2 separate regions of the Homo sapiens genome follow, and region 2 is linked to region 1. The links are contacts of gene promoters, found by promoter capture Hi-C in human tissues and cell types (Jung and others, 2019). All regions are on one chromosome and are shown on one strand. The core of a region is centred on a gene start or on the middle of the fragment in contact, and the rest is flanking DNA. Distances in the headings are between cores, read along the strand shown.

What was found. Contacts are between HindIII fragments. The study calls those that stand out against the background at their distance.
Region 2: a fragment that was not itself captured here is called in contact with the fragment with the promoter of CCM2L in region 1 in 2 of the 25 tissues and cell types used here (H1 embryonic stem cells and bladder).

What each region holds. Positions count from the first base shown.
Region 1 is chr20:32,007,663-32,012,552 of GRCh38, reverse strand. CCM2L (CCM2 like scaffold protein) reads right to left here and starts at 2,115. Exons shown (of 10, transcript NM_001365692.1): 1 at 2,069-2,115. The coding sequence starts at 2,098. It also overlaps the pseudogene RNA5SP481. RefSeq lists enhancers at 264-855, 1,766-2,293. The HindIII fragment of the contact is 15,048 bases long and covers 1-4,890 here.
Region 2 is chr20:31,786,819-31,791,708 of GRCh38, reverse strand. The region is part of intron 12 of TPX2 (TPX2 microtubule nucleation factor); the gene reads right to left. Among named protein-coding and RNA genes, the nearest start is that of MYLK2, 30 kb to the left of the region's middle. RefSeq lists an enhancer at 2,954-3,453. The HindIII fragment of the contact is 7,543 bases long and covers 1-4,890 here.

The DNA.
Region 1 (4,890 bases), core at 866-3,365:
CGGTGGTTCTCAAAGTGTGGCCCCACAGCCATCAGCATAACCTGTGGGTTATTAGAATTGCAAATTCTTTCTGACTCAGCGATCCTCCCACCTCTGCCTCACAGTAGCTAGGACCACAGGCATGCACCACCACCACACCTAGCTAATATATATTTTTTAAAGAGATGGGGTCTTACTATGTTGCCCAGTCTGGTCTTGAACTCCTAGGCTCATGCAATCCTCCTGCCTCAGCCTCCCAAAGTGTTGCGATTACAGGCGTGAGTCACTGTGCCTGGCCAGAAATGCAATTTCTTGAACCCCATCCCAGGCCTATTGGCCCAGAAACTGGGGGTAAGACCCAGTGATCTGTGTTTTAATGAGCCCTCAGGTGATTCTTATGGGTACTCAGCTTATGTTAGAACCCATATCATGGAGCCAGGATGGGGTATGTAGCAACTTTAAGGAATGAGAAGAAACTATCTGGGAGAAAGCATGCCAAGCAGAGGGCACAGCATGTGCAAAATTCTGGATGCCTCAAAGGCTGGATGAGGGTGAGCCTGGAGAAGCTGTGTGCAGTCAGTCTGCCGTGGCTAGATTATGAGACGAACATATCTTGAATGCCGGCTATGGAGCTGGGACTTTGTCTTGCGTATGTGTGTGTATTAGGGGTGGGGAGGGGTAAGTATTTTTGTTGGTGGCCCTGAATGGCTCAGCTCTGCCCACCTGTCCAGCCCCATCTGCCTCATTCTTGTCCCCTGGGCCCCCACTACACAGTCCTCCTTCAGTCCCTCTGGCTTGCTATGTGACTTCCCACTGTGGGGTTTTGCACATGCTGTTCCTCTGCCTCAAACACTCTTCCCTACCCACTTTCCTTCCACCCGTCAGTTCTCGACTCAAACTGATCAGTTTCCTCCAGCACTGAGTATGGGACCTCCTATGATTTTTAAAAAATTTTTATTTATGTATTTATTTATTTATTTTAGACAGAGTCTCACTCTGTCACCCAGGCTGGAGTGCAGTGGCGCGATCTTGGCTCACTGCAACCTCTGCCTCCTAGGTTCAAGCTTCAGCCTCCTTAGTAGCTGGGATTACAGGCATGTGCCACCATGCCCAGTTAATTTTTGTATTTTTAGTAGAGACAGGGTTTCGCCATGTTGGCCTGGCTGGTCTCGAACCCCTGACCTCAGGTGATCCACCCGCCTCGGCCTCCCAAAGTGCTAGAATTACAGGTGTGAGCCACTGCACCCGGCCCTTCTATGCAATTTTACATTAACTTATTTATTGCTTTAAAAAAAGAAATACCTGGTGCATAATAGGCACTCAATAAATGTCTATTAAAAGAACAAACTAAGAGAAAACATGCACGTATGTCTTGGCTCCCTTCTGAGCCCTCTGTGATTCATGTGGGCACCTTTTAGAACAGCCCGGACATATGTTTCTGGTGGGGGTGGGGTAGAGGGGAGGGTGGAAATGGGGGTAAGATGGAAGTTAAAATCAGAGCGCCTCCCTGAACTCCAAAGACAACCAGGTGAGACACCCAGAGAAGCATACTAGAAAACTTCAGAGTCAGAAGGGGTGAGGGGAATGGCTTCTGGCTGACGCCTTACATACGCCCTTGTAGAAAGGTGGGAGGGGCAGGGGGCAGGTGGGAGACTCAAGCCTGTGTAGGCAACATCCTATCGGAATTGCCCTGGCTGAGTCCTTCTGTTTGGGGCAGTGACGAGCAGGAGAATGGATCTGCTGGGTGTCTGTCTGTCCGTCTGTCTGAGAGGCTGCAGGAGGGAGCTGCGGGGAACACCAGGGAAGCAGGTGTGGAGAATCTCCCAAACTGAGTCCGTCTGGCCAGGTTTCCTGAGAAGGTCCCTGTCTGTCCACGTTAGGGATGCCAGAGGCCACTGAGAGTGGAGAAACAGGGAGTTTAGAGCCTGACTGTCTGGCTGTCCAAGAGTGGGAAGGAAGTTACTTCCAAATGAGAAGAAAGGCTCCACTTATGCCCCTCGCTACCGACCCCCCACCCCGCCCCAGTTTGCCCCCTTCCCCAGCTTTGGGGACATTCCTCTCCCTTCGTCCCTCCCAACCTCCCACCTACCTTCTTCCCTTTCTTGACTTCATATTCCATGGTGAAATGTCCCCTCTACTCCTGCCACCCTCCTGGCCATCCCTTCCACCCCCACATCCAGTTCCTTTGTTCTTTTTCCTGCCTGGTCGGAAACTCCACCAGCCCTGGAGTTCCTGCCCCTCCCATCTGATGGGGAGGGCAGGGGGTGTGGAGGACACAGCCTTGGGACCCTGCAGCTGAAGGGTGGAAGCCCAGGCAGAGCTGACCTGAGGAGGGAGGCTCAAGGCCTCTAGCCAGAAGGCGGGTTATTGGGGGAGCTTGGGAATTGGCCAAGGCTGGGAAAGGGCCCCCCACATTTGAAGTCCTGGTTTGGAAAATTCCAAGTTCCAGCCCTACTTCTGCCACTGACCTTGTTGTGTGACCTTGGCAAGGCAAGTCAGTTCCCCCTGTCACAGCCTGTTTCCCCCTCCTCTCTATAAGTTGGGAGTCAACACTGCCTCCCTCCCTAGGCTGCTGTGGTGAGAAATGAAAAGGTGGATGGAAAGTGCCTTATAGAGAGTATTGTAGCCAAGCAAGTTATGATTTTAAAAAATTAATCATTACTATTAAGGGAGGCAGTATGCGTGGGCTTTGAAGATAGGCTGCTTGAATTCGAATCCTGGCTTTGGCACTTACTAGGGTTATGACCTTTGGGAAGTCCCTTAACCACCAGTGCCTCAGTTTTCCCGTCTTTAAAATGAGCATAATACTAGTTTAACCTCATAGTGACCTTGCGGGGATTAAATGCACCTAGAAGAACTTCTGGCACATATTAAGTACTCAGTAAGGCTGGGCGTGGTGGCTCACACCTGTAATCCCAGCACTTTGAGAGGCTGAGGCAGGCAGATCACCTGAGGTGAGGAGTTCGAGACCAGCCTCGCCAACATGGTGAAACCTTGTCTCTACTAAAAATACAAAAATCAGCCGGGTGCGGTGGCACATGCCTGTAATCCCAGCTACTCTGGAGGCTGAGGCAGGAGAAGCGCTTGAACCTGGGTGGTGGAGGTTGCAGTGAGCTGAGATCCAGCCATTACACTCCAGCCTTGGTGACTGGCTGAGACTCCATCTCAAAAAAAAAAAAAAAAAAAAAAAAAACTGAAAAAAAATAAGTGCTCAGTAAACATTAACTGTTTACCTGCTTAGTGGTTGTCAAATTAAAGAACAAACAGAGGCTCTCTAAAATAAAAGATGTTTCACTTAGGAATTAAGCATTGCAGTGGGAATTACCCATATGCCATAGTAAGCGATGTGCATTTTCAGGGAGGTGGGGGGAAGACAAAGATTTTTAAAGGAAAAAAATAAGGATTACATTATTGTTTCTGAAATAATTATTCTTGATTGCAAAGATCAATAGCAAGGGTGATGCCAGTCTAAAGTTGGACAGGCAGTTGCTGGGCAGATGTCCTTGCGGAAGTATTTTTTGTGCAAGGTTTCAATGGCCTTTGTGCAAGGTTGTGATTTTTGTAGTCTTTTTTGTTATCAGTCTTGTTGTTATCTGTTTTGTTATCAGTCTTATTTGTTATGCAAGCATGAAAACCCTCTATGGCCTTCCCCAGCTCTATTTGTCAAGGTTTTCTTAACATTAGTGACTCCATTTTTATTCTGACCATGTTCATAGGGTCTTGAGCTGTTTTGCTCTCTTGGGAGTATATTAGGGAGGCAAGGTCCCCTTTGTGGCTCTGTGCTGAACACTTTACATATTTTAACTTACTCACAGTGTTGAGTACCATGATAGTACCTATTATACAGATTTTTGAAACTGAGGCTGAAGTTCAGAGCCTGGTTCAAGGAGGTCACACAGTGAGTAAGAGGAGGACCTGGGATTTCTGGCTGGTCTGGATCTGAGCCTAGCGTTCCTTACCTCTAGGACCTATGCATTCTGCATGCCCCACCCAGGACAGATGGAAAGGTTCTGTGTGGCCCATCCACACCTTGCCAAGACACCTGGGTTCTGGAGACCTAAGCTCTGGAACTGATTTGCTGTATATGACCTGGTCCAGGTTGCTCATTGTAACCTCTCTTGGCGTCAGCTTTCTTATCTCCCATCCAAGTACTAACCAGGCCCGACCCTGCTTAGCTTCCGAGATCAGACGAGATCGGTCAGCTTTCTTATCTTTCCAATGGGAATAATAATTTCCCAAAGCCCTGCTCTGCTCATCAGAGCTGTGGCCAGAAAGACACAGGCCATGGATGGAAGAGCAGTTAGAAACTGTAAAGTACCAATGCACTGGATTCTACTGAAAGGCTTTTTCTGAAAGCCTGGTGTTCAAGATCAGTGCCCTGAAGGGAGGGTCAGAGCTCCCCAACGCGCTTCTGGGTGTGAGAGCTACAGGAGACTCCTAGCCACTAGCCCTTCCTCTTCCTTCCCCTCCCTTGGAGGGGAAATGGCCCAGGTTGCTTAGTGCTGGCTCTCACAGCCACTCCCTCCTGCTCCCCTGCATCCTGCCGGGTCACCCCCCAGCTCAGGAAGTGAGATCTCCACTCAGCCTGCCAGGCGAACAGGAAGAGGCCAGGGTGTGCTAGCCAATTCCTGACTCTGCTCTGGATGTGAAAGCTCCAACTTAACCCCTTGAGCCAGCCCAGAATTCCCACCCTTGGAGCAGCAGCCGGGCATGAGACATGTGGTCTCTTGCTCTGGCATCTCCATGACTGGCTTTTGCAAGCCTTTTCCTCTCTCTGGGCCTCAATTTCCCTGTCTATAAAATGGAAGCTTATATTATTCCTGGACTAGCTCCAAACATCACTGAACTGCTGGGAATCTCAAATAGGACAATAAGTGTTTTGCATGCCACTAAAATTAGAAAACTATCTCT
Region 2 (4,890 bases), core at 1,450-3,949, 220 kb after region 1:
TCTGCTAGTCTCCTAACAGTCTTTCAGCTCCACAACTCATTCCTCCAATTCATTGTCTGCATGTAGTCCACATTATTACTCTAAAACACATTTGATCACATTACTTCCTGACTTAAAATTCTTTAGGCCAGGTGCAGTGGCTCATGTCTGTAATCCCAGCACTTTGGGAGGCAGAGGTGGGTGGATCACGAGGTCAGGAGATCGAGACTATCCTGGCTAACACGGTGAAACCCCGTCTCTACTAAAAATACAAAAAAATTAGCCGGGCATGGTGGCGGGTGCCTGTAGTCCCAGCTACTCGGGAGGCTGAGGCAGGAGACTGGCGTGAACCCAGGAGGCGGAGCTTGCAGTGAGCCAAGATCGCACCACTGCACTCCAGCCTGGGCGACAGAGCAAGACTCCGTCTCAAAGAAAAAAAAATTAATTCTTTAATGGCTCCTATTGCTTACCTACAACAGCATAACAAATTCCTTTTCGTGAAACACAAGGCACTTGCTTGAATCTCACTCATAAATATCGCCTTCATGGCCTCCTTAGTAGTAGCATTAATCTGGTACCCTCCTGACTCTCCCGCCTTACCTCTCACCCCTCCTTACATATCACGTTGCAACCACAACGAACTACTGATCGCTCCCCAAATGGTTCCTATCTCATTACCTTTGCTTGTGCTTTCTCTGTCTGAAATGCCCCGGCTGCTTGAAAGCACCCAATTCATCTTTTCAAGCCTCCACTTTTATAAAGCCTTTCCTCTTTTATAAAGCCTTTCAATAGATCTCTCCACTCCCAGGACCTACAGAACTGACCCCTTTATCCCATTGTATATGGTTTTATCACAGTCCATACAAAACTTAATTGCACTTATTTATTTAGATGTTCATTTCCCCCTGCTAGCCTGAGTGCTTCGAGGATGGAGACTATTTTACTCCATCAGACCCAAGTACCTAACATAGACCTTGGCAAGTATAAAGCACTCAGTAAATGTTTGTTGAATGAATGCAGTAAGAATGAATGAACACATGAGTAACAGAATTTATACCTTGGACTCTAGGAGGATACCTTGGGAGCCTTCTCCTTAATCCCAACAATGCTGCAACCGTTCGAAACATGTTTGGAATGTCTTTCTTGGAGTGGCTTTCAAAGGCACTTTCTGGACCATGCAAGACAGTTGCTCAATCTTTACTATTCATTTAACAAATAGTTTACACCTCTATTATCTTGGACTACTCAGAAGTTTTAGTTCCAAATAACCTTAGACTAGATCCTAAAAGCAAATTAATGTTTAAAATACACGTGAAGATTTGTCATCCTGGGAGGGATCCCAAAGGCTCATCTCAGGATTCAAGATGCATGGCTTTTCCAAAATGCTTTTTGCAGTATCACAATCATTGGAAGGGATTTACAGTCTCTCAAGGTGACCACTGAGAATGCTCATTCTGCTGTGAAATTTCTTATATGTTTTCTAAAGAATGCTAGAATCATTAGCATAGTGAAATCCAATATAGCAGATCTTGTATTCAGAGTGACAAAACTCCAAGAAATGGGTTGTCAAATGATGTTTACCATAAAACAGCAACAACAACAAAATCTGCTCTTCTATAGACATGTGGACACTAGCATCTTGCTTGAATGCACCAGGGGCAAGTGGAAGAGAGACAAATAGTGAGCAAGAAGCCACGGGTCTGTCTGTTCCAGCCCAGCTCTGCTTCCAATCTGTATAACCTTAAACACATCAGATATCCTTCTAGGCCTTGGGGTTTTTTAATAAAATAAAGTAATTGAAATAAGTAATTGAGGATTCATTTAGTTCTGAAATAATTCCCTCTCTCTGCATTCACCCAACAGAAATGTCTGCATTTTAAAAGAGAAGCAAGGGAAACCTCTAATAAGTAGGCCATGAAGGAGATATGTATGAGTGAGCTCAATCTCTTAATTAGTTGGGGGAGAGGAAAAGATGATTTATGAAAATCATCTTTGCAGCAACTATCCACTCACACCCCAGCCCCCCTTCCATCAAAGTTAACTAGGGGCTCGATTAGAAATAATGAAAAGAAAATTGGGTTTACAGAAACAAAGAAAGTTTTTTTTTGTTTTTTTTTGTTTTTGCTATTTTAAGTTTTTTAAATTATAAGCTCCTTGAGGACTGGAATATTGTCATTTGCATTCTTTTGTCTTCCCATATCACCTACTAGAAGACCCCGTAGTAACTGTTCAATGAACATATGTTGGTTAATATTACCATATTTACTCATTTACACATCTATATGCTCTACCAGACTATGAAAGCTTTGAGGACAAGGGCCGTGTCTTATACCATCTTTGAATTCCTAGTGTCTAGGTGCATGTCAGCTTCTACTATTACTCACTCAGTTATCCGATATCAGAGTGCTTGTGCTGTGGTGGTCACTATGCTAGGGGCTAGGGATACAGAGTGAATAATATAGATACACACGGTCCCTGTTCTCAGGGAGCTCACATTCTAATGGAGGAAAGAGACAATGAAGATTTAACAAATTAAATACTTCCAAATTTTCACAAGTGCTCTAAAGAAACCCAGCAGAATATGGAGCTAATGGTTATTAGAGGGATGCTCCCTCAATGAAGGGGAAGGTATCTCTAAAGAGGTGATATGTGGTTAGAATGGGGCAATGTGGGTGGATAAATGATGCATTTAGGAAAAGCAGCCAGGACTGGGGATGGGAATGGGGAGGTGAATACCTCTCCCTAAGACAGGATGTGCCCCCCAAGTACCCTGGGACAGGATCTCAGGCCTGTCCCAGGGCAGTTAGGAAACTACTCTGAAGCAATGTTATTTTGGGAAGTATATATATTTTAAAAAAGCCTGCTGCCCTCCCCAAGTCATCCCTAAAGTATCTCTGCTAAAATTACTCACTGGTCTCACTGACACCACATCCACCTCCGTGGTGCCCCGGCTGCCCAATAGAGGTCAGCACCAAGTTCACATTTCACACCCTCGTGCTCAAGGCTTTGTCACTCCACCTCTGCCCCAGGAGTCCTTTTCTCATTTCTGCCTCACTTGGGCCCACTGCTGCCCAAGCCCATCTTTCATCAACTCTATTTATTGTCCCCCTGCCACTTATCAACCACAAGTGGAAGTGCAGAGGAAACACTGTAAGGACACACGAAACAGCTTCAGCACTGGGGGGGACGTGGATGGGGAACAAAAGCATCAGACAGACAAGCTGCATCAGGCTCTGGAAGGTGGGCTCTTAAATTCTGCTGTAAAAGTCCAACACTAGAAGTTCAAAGACTTTTTTTTTTTTTTTTTTTTTTGAGACAGAGTCTCGCTCTGTTGCCCAGGATGGAGTGCAGTGGTGCAATCTCAGCTCACTGCAACCTCCACCTCCTGGGTTCATGCAATTCTCCTGCCTCAGCCTCCTGAGTAGCTAGGAGTACAGGTGCCTGCCACCACGCCCGGCTAATTTTTTTTGTATTTAGTAGAGACAGGGTTTCACCATGTTGGGCAGGCTGGTCTCCAACTCCTGACCTCAGGTGATCAGCCCACCTTGGCTTCCCAAAGTGTTGGGATTACAGGCGTGAGCCACCGCGCCTGGCCGACTTACTCTCTTATAAATGTTTCTTTTAAATGTTTCCATAGGCAAGCTATAATCCCCTGTGAAAGGAAAATAAATCTTGGGACCCCCAAAATCAGTAAGCCAAGGAGAAAAGTCAAGCTAGGAACTTCAACATGCAAACCTGCCTCCCATTCAAAGATGAAAAAGGTACATACCTCCCTCACAATTTGCCCACTTGAAAATTCCTTGGGGGCCCCAAGTTCTTCACCCTAAAACAGTTCTGTTGAATTTCACCCTGACAATATAAATTGATAGCTTATCTTCACAGGTACAGGACAAAGGACAGAACTCAAAGTCATCCCTTGGCTCACCTGAGAAATGCGTATCTGATTGCTTCCTCTGCCCTAATTATCTTATGTAAAAATGCAGATTCACTGAACTAGATGAATGCATAAGTAACTATTCCTCTACCCCCTCTCACATGTGAACAAAGAATGCAACCATTTGCCTCTTACCTACCCATACCTTTTCAAAATCTCTTCCCCTTTCCCCACTATCCACCCTTTCCCCTTAAAATATGAAGCCCTCAAAATCATCTTTGGAGAAAGGTACAGACCTGTCTCCCAGGCATGCATCCTTAACCTTAGCAAAATAAACTTCTAAATTGATTGAGACCTGTCTCATACTTTTTGGTTTGCACCCCTTTCAAAACCTCCCTTTCTGAAAAGTGAAGCGGGTAGAAGAAAACACATCTAACATCTCTTCCTATGCTATGCTTCTCTAGAAACCAAGAGTTGAAGTCAAATCACTGGAAATTTTAGTAGGGAAACCTGCAAACAGCCAGTGTCAAACTCAGAAACCTCATTTGCCAAAATAAATATGATAACAGTAAGCATTGTAGGGTACAATAATACAGTGTTTAAGGAGATGATGGGCTCAGATTCTGGTTCTGCATACTAGATACCTCTCAGTGTTTATTCCCTTGTCTGAAAAATAGGGATAAGTATAGACTCCACCTCTTAGAAGTGTAATCAGACATAAATAAGACAATCTACATAAAGTACTCAGGACAATGTAAGCACTCAATAAAATGACAATTACTATTAATAATACCCCTGCTTACTGCGTGTCAGGCACCATACTCAGTGCTTTATCTGGGCTCCCTCTGTGATGTACCCAACAAATCTGTTTATGTAATAAGAGCCCCAGAGGATTCTGAGAACCAGCTGGATTTGGCAAACACTTCCATTCCGCAAATCGTATCAATTCGGTCACACCTTACCTAGTGCTTTGCAGATCTGTTTACACAGAATTTTCACAGGTATAACCTGGTACCCAACTACTCTAAGATCTCAAC